Linked DNA regions of Homo sapiens: region 2 is linked to region 1. The links are contacts of gene promoters, found by promoter capture Hi-C in human tissues and cell types (Jung and others, 2019). All regions are on one chromosome and are shown on one strand. Each heading gives the region's core, a stretch centred on a gene start or on the middle of the fragment in contact. The rest is flanking DNA. Distances are from core to core; before and after follow the strand shown.

What was found. Contacts are between HindIII fragments. The study calls those that stand out against the background at their distance.
Region 2: a fragment that was not itself captured here is called in contact with the fragment with the promoter of FUT8 in region 1 in 1 of the 25 tissues and cell types used here (dorsolateral prefrontal cortex).

What each region holds. Positions count from the first base shown.
Region 1 is chr14:65,410,716-65,414,273 of GRCh38, forward strand. FUT8 (fucosyltransferase 8) reads left to right here and starts at 2,015. Exons shown (of 11, transcript NM_001371533.1): 1 at 2,015-2,499. It overlaps FUT8-AS1 (FUT8 antisense RNA 1), which reads right to left and starts at 1,902. Exons shown (of 1, transcript NR_024334.1): 1 at 1-1,902. RefSeq lists enhancers at 1,194-1,513, 2,756-3,320 and silencers at 2,054-2,213, 2,514-2,633, 2,644-2,833. The HindIII fragment of the contact is 6,462 bases long and covers 1-2,434 here.
Region 2 is chr14:66,510,329-66,513,935 of GRCh38, forward strand. The region is part of intron 1 of GPHN (gephyrin); the gene reads left to right. Among named protein-coding and RNA genes, the nearest start is that of GPHN, 4.0 kb to the left of the region's middle. The HindIII fragment of the contact is 6,277 bases long and covers 1-3,607 here.

The DNA of each region.
Region 1 (3,558 bases), core at 765-3,264:
AAGTATTATACAGTGTAAACTATCATGATTATTAACCAACTAGAAGTAGTTCTTTTTTTTAAATTTTATTTTTAATTTTAGACATGAGGGTCTTGCTATGTTGCCCAGGCTGAAGTGGCTACTGACAGGCACGATGTGGCACTGCAGCCTGGAACTCTTGGGCTTAAGTGATCCTTCCTGCTTCTTCTATCTTAAAAAAAAAAAGTTACGCTTGCTTGTTAAAATATTTTTAAAATGCTGTGTTTAAACTAAGAAGTAAATATCCACCCCACCTCTGACTTCTAAAAATTATCTAAAGTATGACTGGTAAGATTTTTACCTTTAATCCCACATAAGTCTAAAATTTGTGTTCATTTCCAACAACCAAAGTGTGTCACTTTTATACCAGAATTTTGTCCTGCTTATACGTTTAGTACAGAAATCTCATGGGAGAGAGCATCCATGCATTTACAAATTGTTATTGAATTATTTTATTGAATGATGACACCCAAACTGAGCTAGAACATAATTCTGGCTCTGCTAGTACATCTTCTGTGTGATCTTGGACAAGTCACTCTACTTTCCTTTCAATTTTCTTTTCTCACAGGGAGATAATCATAAAAACGACTGTAAAGTACAGCACTTCATAGAGTGCTTTTTGTTTAAAGAGCTGACAATAAATACGAGTCTCAAGGTCTAGGAAAGCCTCCCTCACAACCTGAGCTGCTTGAGGACAAGGGATTTTCTTTTGAATCAGCAGTACCTTATTTGTGTATCTGTGATAGAGTTCCTGGTACATAAGAAGGTCTCAATAAATATGTGAATTTATGAATATTAGGCAGATTGCAACCTTGACAGGCCACTGCCTCTTAAATCTCCTTTCTGTGATCTTTTAATATTTAACATCTAAAAGGCCGCCGCTACTTGCTTTGGGATAAGTATCCCCGGTATGTACTTTAAAATGCCCAAGCCTAGAGAAATGATTCTTGTCTTAAGGGCACCATTTCGCTCTCCCACCGTAAAGCGCCCCAGGCTTGGGATCTGGGTCCCAAGGCTACAGGGAAGAGTTTGGAACGGGAAGCTCATCTTCCGGCCCTCTGATTGGCCGGCTCGCACTCCACTCACGCGGCGCGCAGCTCTGATTGGCCTCGGCGGCACCCCTCGTCCCGCGACTACTTTGTGTGCTGGGGCGGCGCGCTCCGGTCCTCCCGCTCAGCTGGCGGTCTGGGCTGCTCTGGGGCAGCCCTTCGGTCCACTGCTCTGCATCGCGGGCGCCGGGAATTTTCCGAGTCCGAGCGGGTAGGACGCATCCTAGGGCAAAGCCTCTCCCCTCTCCCCGTGCTGTTCTCTTTCCCGTACTAAATAAACTTCCGCCTCAGAGGGGCTGTCGCAGCCGCGGGTCGGGAGAGGCCGGGCATCGAACTCAGGCCCTCGTGGGGGGGGTCTTTCTCTTCGAGTGAATGTGGAAACAGCTCTTACAAGATAAAGTAGGGCTTCGCTGAGTCTCCTGGGGGAGCGATGCCATTGTAGGATCGCGCTGGAAGCAGCAGTCAAGCGGCCAAATGCGGGCTGCAGGGGCTGAGCAGCAGCAGCGCGCACCCCTAAAAGTAGCAAGGAGCCAGCTTCAAAACCTCTAGTGCGGGTGCCCCCTAGGGCCGCCGACTGAGCTGGCACGGGCCGGTCCATTCCCGGCGCTGTAGGGAGCACAGCATTCTCTGGAGGCGAGTCTCCTCCCGGGATCCAGGATCCGCTCGCGCCCCGCTCAGCCTCCGGCCTTCAGGCGGTAGAGGGCGGCCTACGCCTGTGTGCGAGCCGGAGCCGGCGTGCGCAGCCGCTGCCCTGCTGGAACTGTGCCGTCCCGCTGTGGCCCGCGGCTCTGCTAGGCGGTGGATGCTGCTGCTACGCTCTCCACCGGCGCAGCGAGGAAGGGGGCGGGGAGAATCCCTGGCACATGCCAGGGTCGCCGTAGGTGGCAGCGGCCGGCGCATGCGCGCCCTCTCCCAGAAGCCAGGAACGCCGAGGGGCGCGCTCCCCCATTCGCGCGCGCACGCCGGCGCTGGCCGAGGCTTCCCCGCCTGCGCTCGTTGTCAGAGCCGCTCCGGCGCGTGCGCGCGTTATCTCCGGCCGACCCGAGCAGCCGGTTCCCTCCTCTCCAGGCCCCCTCCCCATCCCACCCCCGCCGCCTGGCCCCAGCCGACCCGTCCCTTCGTCTCCCCGCGGAATGGGGCCGGCACTGCTCAGGGTCGCGCGCCCTGGACCCAGCTCGCTCTCGGTCTCGCGCTGTCAGCGACTGCCCGGCTCGCGCCGCCTCGCGCTCTGCCTCAGTCAGTGGCGCCGAAGGCTCCGTTAAGCGGCGGCGGCGGTTCCTGTTTCCGTTTCTTCCTCTCCGTTCGGTCGGGAGTAGCATCCTCCACTCAGCCACCCTTCCCACTCCCCCATCGTGGGGCAGCTGCGGCTGAGGGCTGTGGCTTTGGCAGCTGCGACGGGGAGCGGCGGAGACCGCCTCTGCTCCCGCCTGGGGTAAGGGGGCGTTTTGGGAGCCGGGCCCCGCGCGCCTCGGGGTCTTGGGCTGGGCTGCGCGCGGGATCTGAGGAGGCTCCGCGGCTGTCCCTGCTCGTTCACCCGGGCCTGTTGCTGCAACTGCTGCCGGTTAACCAGCGGCTCTCGGAAAAGTGGGGAGGGAGCCCCCGGGACGCTCTGGCGGATGCCTTGGCGCAGCCCCGGGGGCGCGGGCAGAGGGTGAGGGGCGCCCGCCTCTCCAGCCGGGACGCGGAGCTGCGCCGCTGCTGCCCTCGGCGTCGCGCATCCTTGCCTAGGGCAGGGGCCAAAGCCTAGGGAAGGAGAAGGGTTGGGGGCGGGGGTGGGAGGTGTCCGTCGTTTCCCCTCCACACCTACCTTCCCTTCGTCAGCAGCTCGGTCCCTGGAGTCGCGGTTTGTGGGGAGGAAGATGCCCGTGCGTTATGGGCTCTTTCTGAGTGCTGCTCGGGCTAGAAAGCAGGGAGTGGACCCTCACAAAGATCCGCGAGGGACTGATGCAGGGCAGTTAAAGGCTTGAGTGCAGCTGTACTCCCTTTTGATGTGCAAATGACGAGCTGGCGGCTTTTGAGTATCAACTTATTTGGGAAGGTTAAATGAGTCCATATTTATCAGTTCTAGGAGGTTTGTCCTGCAGGATTGAGTGGGTTGTCGGGTGCAGCACCTGTTCTTTCTTCACAGTGGGGATTGCAATCTTCAGAGACGCAGTGTATTTCTTAAGTGGCAGTGTCATGCTTAGGGTTTGTCCCGGATGAGCTTTTATTTTAGCATTTTGCCATATAATATATAGATTGAGGCCTTGGTTAAAGGCACGGACAGGTGGTGTTTTTTTCCTTCCTATGTTTTAATTATTCACAGTTTATTTAAACCCACTCAGGAAGGTGGACCCAGAAAAGCCAAATTCTGTAGTACATAACCCCAAATTTCAAGGTTTTGCGGAACAAATTCAACACAAGTTTTGTGTCAGTTTAGAGTTAAACGCATCTCAAGTAACTGACTTAACTGGCTTGCCTCTATGAAAACTGTAGGCAGGTTTCATTATAG
Region 2 (3,607 bases), core at 641-3,140, 1.1 Mb after region 1:
TTAAAAGTTAAACCGTAGAAACATTTTTAAAATGAACATTTTCTACTTAAGCTTTCCATTAAATAATAGTTTCATTTAACGAATCAACTTACCTTTGTGAAGTGACATAGCAGATAGGTGTTGTACAGACTGCTTTGAAAGATGCAGCCCTTATCTGGTGTCCCTACAGTCTAATATGGATAACATTGATACGCAAACAAATGAAGAAACATTGTATGTAATTATTGTGCAAAACTTTTCTAAATACATTACCTATGAGTTTGGGGTTAACTGCAAAAGAAATTCCGTATTCAGATGGATTAGGAGAGAATGTGACTACCTGAAGGGAGAATTTAATACATTTACTAGGTCAAGAAGAAACTGTCAATTTTAAGGGGAGTTGAAAGTCAGCAGCCACTTTATAAATAAATATATAGTTGATGATGAGGCTTCTGAGCTAAATAAAAATGCAATGTAAAGGCCTTGAAAAGCTGAAGTGGAATGGGTAGGTGGCATAGGTAAAATGTTAGAGAGAAGGTAACATTAACATTGACAGTGGAATTAAAGACAGTCAGGGGAAGCCGTCTCATGAGAATGAGGTACAGTAGTCTAGGGGGAAAAGTCTAGGGCCAGGAACAAGGATGTAGCTGAAGGAATGAAAAGGCAGCTACAGATTTGGAATAAGTGATAATAGAGGAAAATAGGTTTTGATGATAACATGTATATTTGAAGTCAGAAGTAACTCAGGCTTTTTCTTGAAAGTTGTTGATACAGATATTGTCTACTATGATGGAGAGGAAAGAAAACTGATTTTTCTCAAGTCTGTAACTAGTGGGTTTCATTATCAACAGCTTAATTTCTGTGGTCTTGCCTGATATACCATATGATTTGGGGGAAAGAACTTACAAAAATGAAGCTGTGCTGTACAATTTTGTGTATTCTAGAACTTGAGGTTTTGCAGTTTTACTATGTAGAATTATTCTTTACTGAACTGAAGTATTGTGATTTCATACTTAAGAAAGTTGAGTTGAACTGTGGTTTTTGTAAATTATTATTTGTGGCTCTTAAAAGGTGGAGGGTCTCTTTTAGAAAATCTCCTTGGCATGCTTCGTAATACTAATTTTAAGTATTTTATCTATATCTATTTTACAAAGATAGTGGAAAGTGTGATCTACCCACACACACATTTTACAATATGTTACTTAGTATTTTGTGAAGTCATATTGTCATTTCTAAAGTTTTTAATTGACGTTGTGACATTTTTTATTACCTGTTGAAAGATATTTGTTCTTTGAAACTTTTCATCCATTAGATGTTTTCGTTATCTTCATTTCAGTTGTAAATTTGGCAAATTTAGTACATAGTCTGTTGAGACTTCTCATTAAATAAATTAATTGTATTAGGTTTATGAAAGAATAATGGTAGAAAGGGAAATATTTAGCAGAAGCATTTTTTTGCTTCATTATTTTGAATTATTAAGCACTTGAAAATGAGATTATGATAATTAATGTAACATGGATATTCTAATTATACTTTTTTTTAAATCAGGAAAATGAGAACATATATGTATATAAAATAGGCTGTATGTGGAAACATTTTATGTTGAATATTATTGTCCATCTCTAACAACAATAACTTTGTTCGAAACTGTCTTATGTTGACTTGACAGAAATGAAAGTCACATGGTGTTTGGTGACCTAAGGTCTAGTTTGAAATATTTCTGTGTCTAATTAGTTGTCTACTTGTATTACTATTTATAGAAGAGACTAGAGGTAATATGGTAATGAGTAACATGAAGCAAATAAACAAGTATCTGCTACTTGAAAACTAGAAACAGGATGTGGTGCAGATGTAGAATTTTTTTCTAACAGCTTTAGTAGTGATTATACTTGAAGTCAATCTTACCAGTTACATAGCAGGCTCACTATATCTGGAATATGTCACTCTTCACATACTTTTTTCTATTTTGAAAGAAGCTGTTTATCAAAGCAGCATACTAGTTTTACCTGTAAAAGCTCTACAGAAACATTACTAGGAAAATAATGACTACATGTATGTATAGAATGTAGAATCATATAGATTATTCCATTGGCTACTGAATATCGTATTAGTTCGCTACAGCTAATGTTTGATACCAAGGTACTTAGCTGAAGATGATAATCCATTACCTAAATTGTCACTAATAGGGGCATGAATGAGAAAAAGGTACAAATTTTTGGGAAAGGGCATTTTTAAAAATCATATTTTTGCTGTAGTAATATACATTTTAATTGCACTAACCTGTTGATTTGAAATCAGTAAGAGATACTGGAACAAATATAAGACTAGGTACTAGAGATTAGTTAAAAGACTAATTGTAAATGAGAACATCAAAATATTACAGTAACAGGTAGGGAGTATTTCAGTTATTCATAAATGAAGTCATTCAAAGTATTAAAAAAACAAGCTTGAGCCAAGCAGATGCTACTGTCATAACTCTGCAATTGTTTAAGCATTTACTTTTTTACATTCTTGAAACCTGTTCTGGTATATTATGTGTCAATATTATTTTCTGAAAAGCCCATTTATTGATAAGGATATATACATATTATATCTGTTTTGAGAATAGATGTCATTAAGTAGGCAAATTACTATTAAATCCTACTAAGTGGAACTGTATGTTCTGCCTAACTTAGCTGTTTTTTTAATATGTGTTTTTAATATTGATCTATATGACTTGAAAGGAATCCTATTTCTTGAAATAGATTGTTATTTTGTGAATTTTTTGTTGAAAGCAATGTATTAGAGAATTAAATGTTTAGGCAAAGTAGGAAAATGTTAAATTAATTTCTAATGAATATACTTAGTACTATTATCATTGGTCAAAGACTTGAAAAAGTATTAGTTGCTATACAATAAGAATTTTAACTATATTAAAAACACATGTGACAATTTGACTTCAAAGTGAATATACTTAATACTATCATCACTGGCCAAGGACTTGAAAAAGTATTAGTTGCTATACAATAAGAGTTTTAAATACATTAAAAACACATACAACTATTTGACTTCAAGCAGGCATATAGTGGAAAGTCAATAGTATGTTTTTAGGGAGGAAGTGACGAATAAGAGTCTATTTTTAATCTTGCTAGTGATAGATTCCTGGCTAAGTTGAACAGGGTGTTTTTAAAAACAATCAGTAAAATAGATAAAATCTATTACTCTGTTTCTGTAAATAGGATTGAAGAATAATGAAGCATATTTGGAATTTGAAAGGTATTAAAAAAAGATCCTGAAAAAGAAAGTAGTGAAACCACAAAGGATTTCTTCCTTCACATCTGGGCAGAGAAGATAAATACCAAGGAAGAAGAAAAGATTGTTTAACCTACTTAAAAGTAATTGGGACTGTAGTCAATATGAATGGCATCTAATCTCACTTTCATTAAAAAGTTTTTTTGAGTGACCTCTCAAAAAGGAAATGTTTAATGAAGTATTGCTAGGTAGAAGTTCTATCCAGGTTCTTTAATGAATTTATAAACTAAATTGTTTTTAATAAATTAATTTTAACTAAGTAGAGCTTCTTGAAAATTTTGTGTTTAAACAACCCCAACAATTTTAACAGTAGCTTTGTCAGTATTTATACATTTCG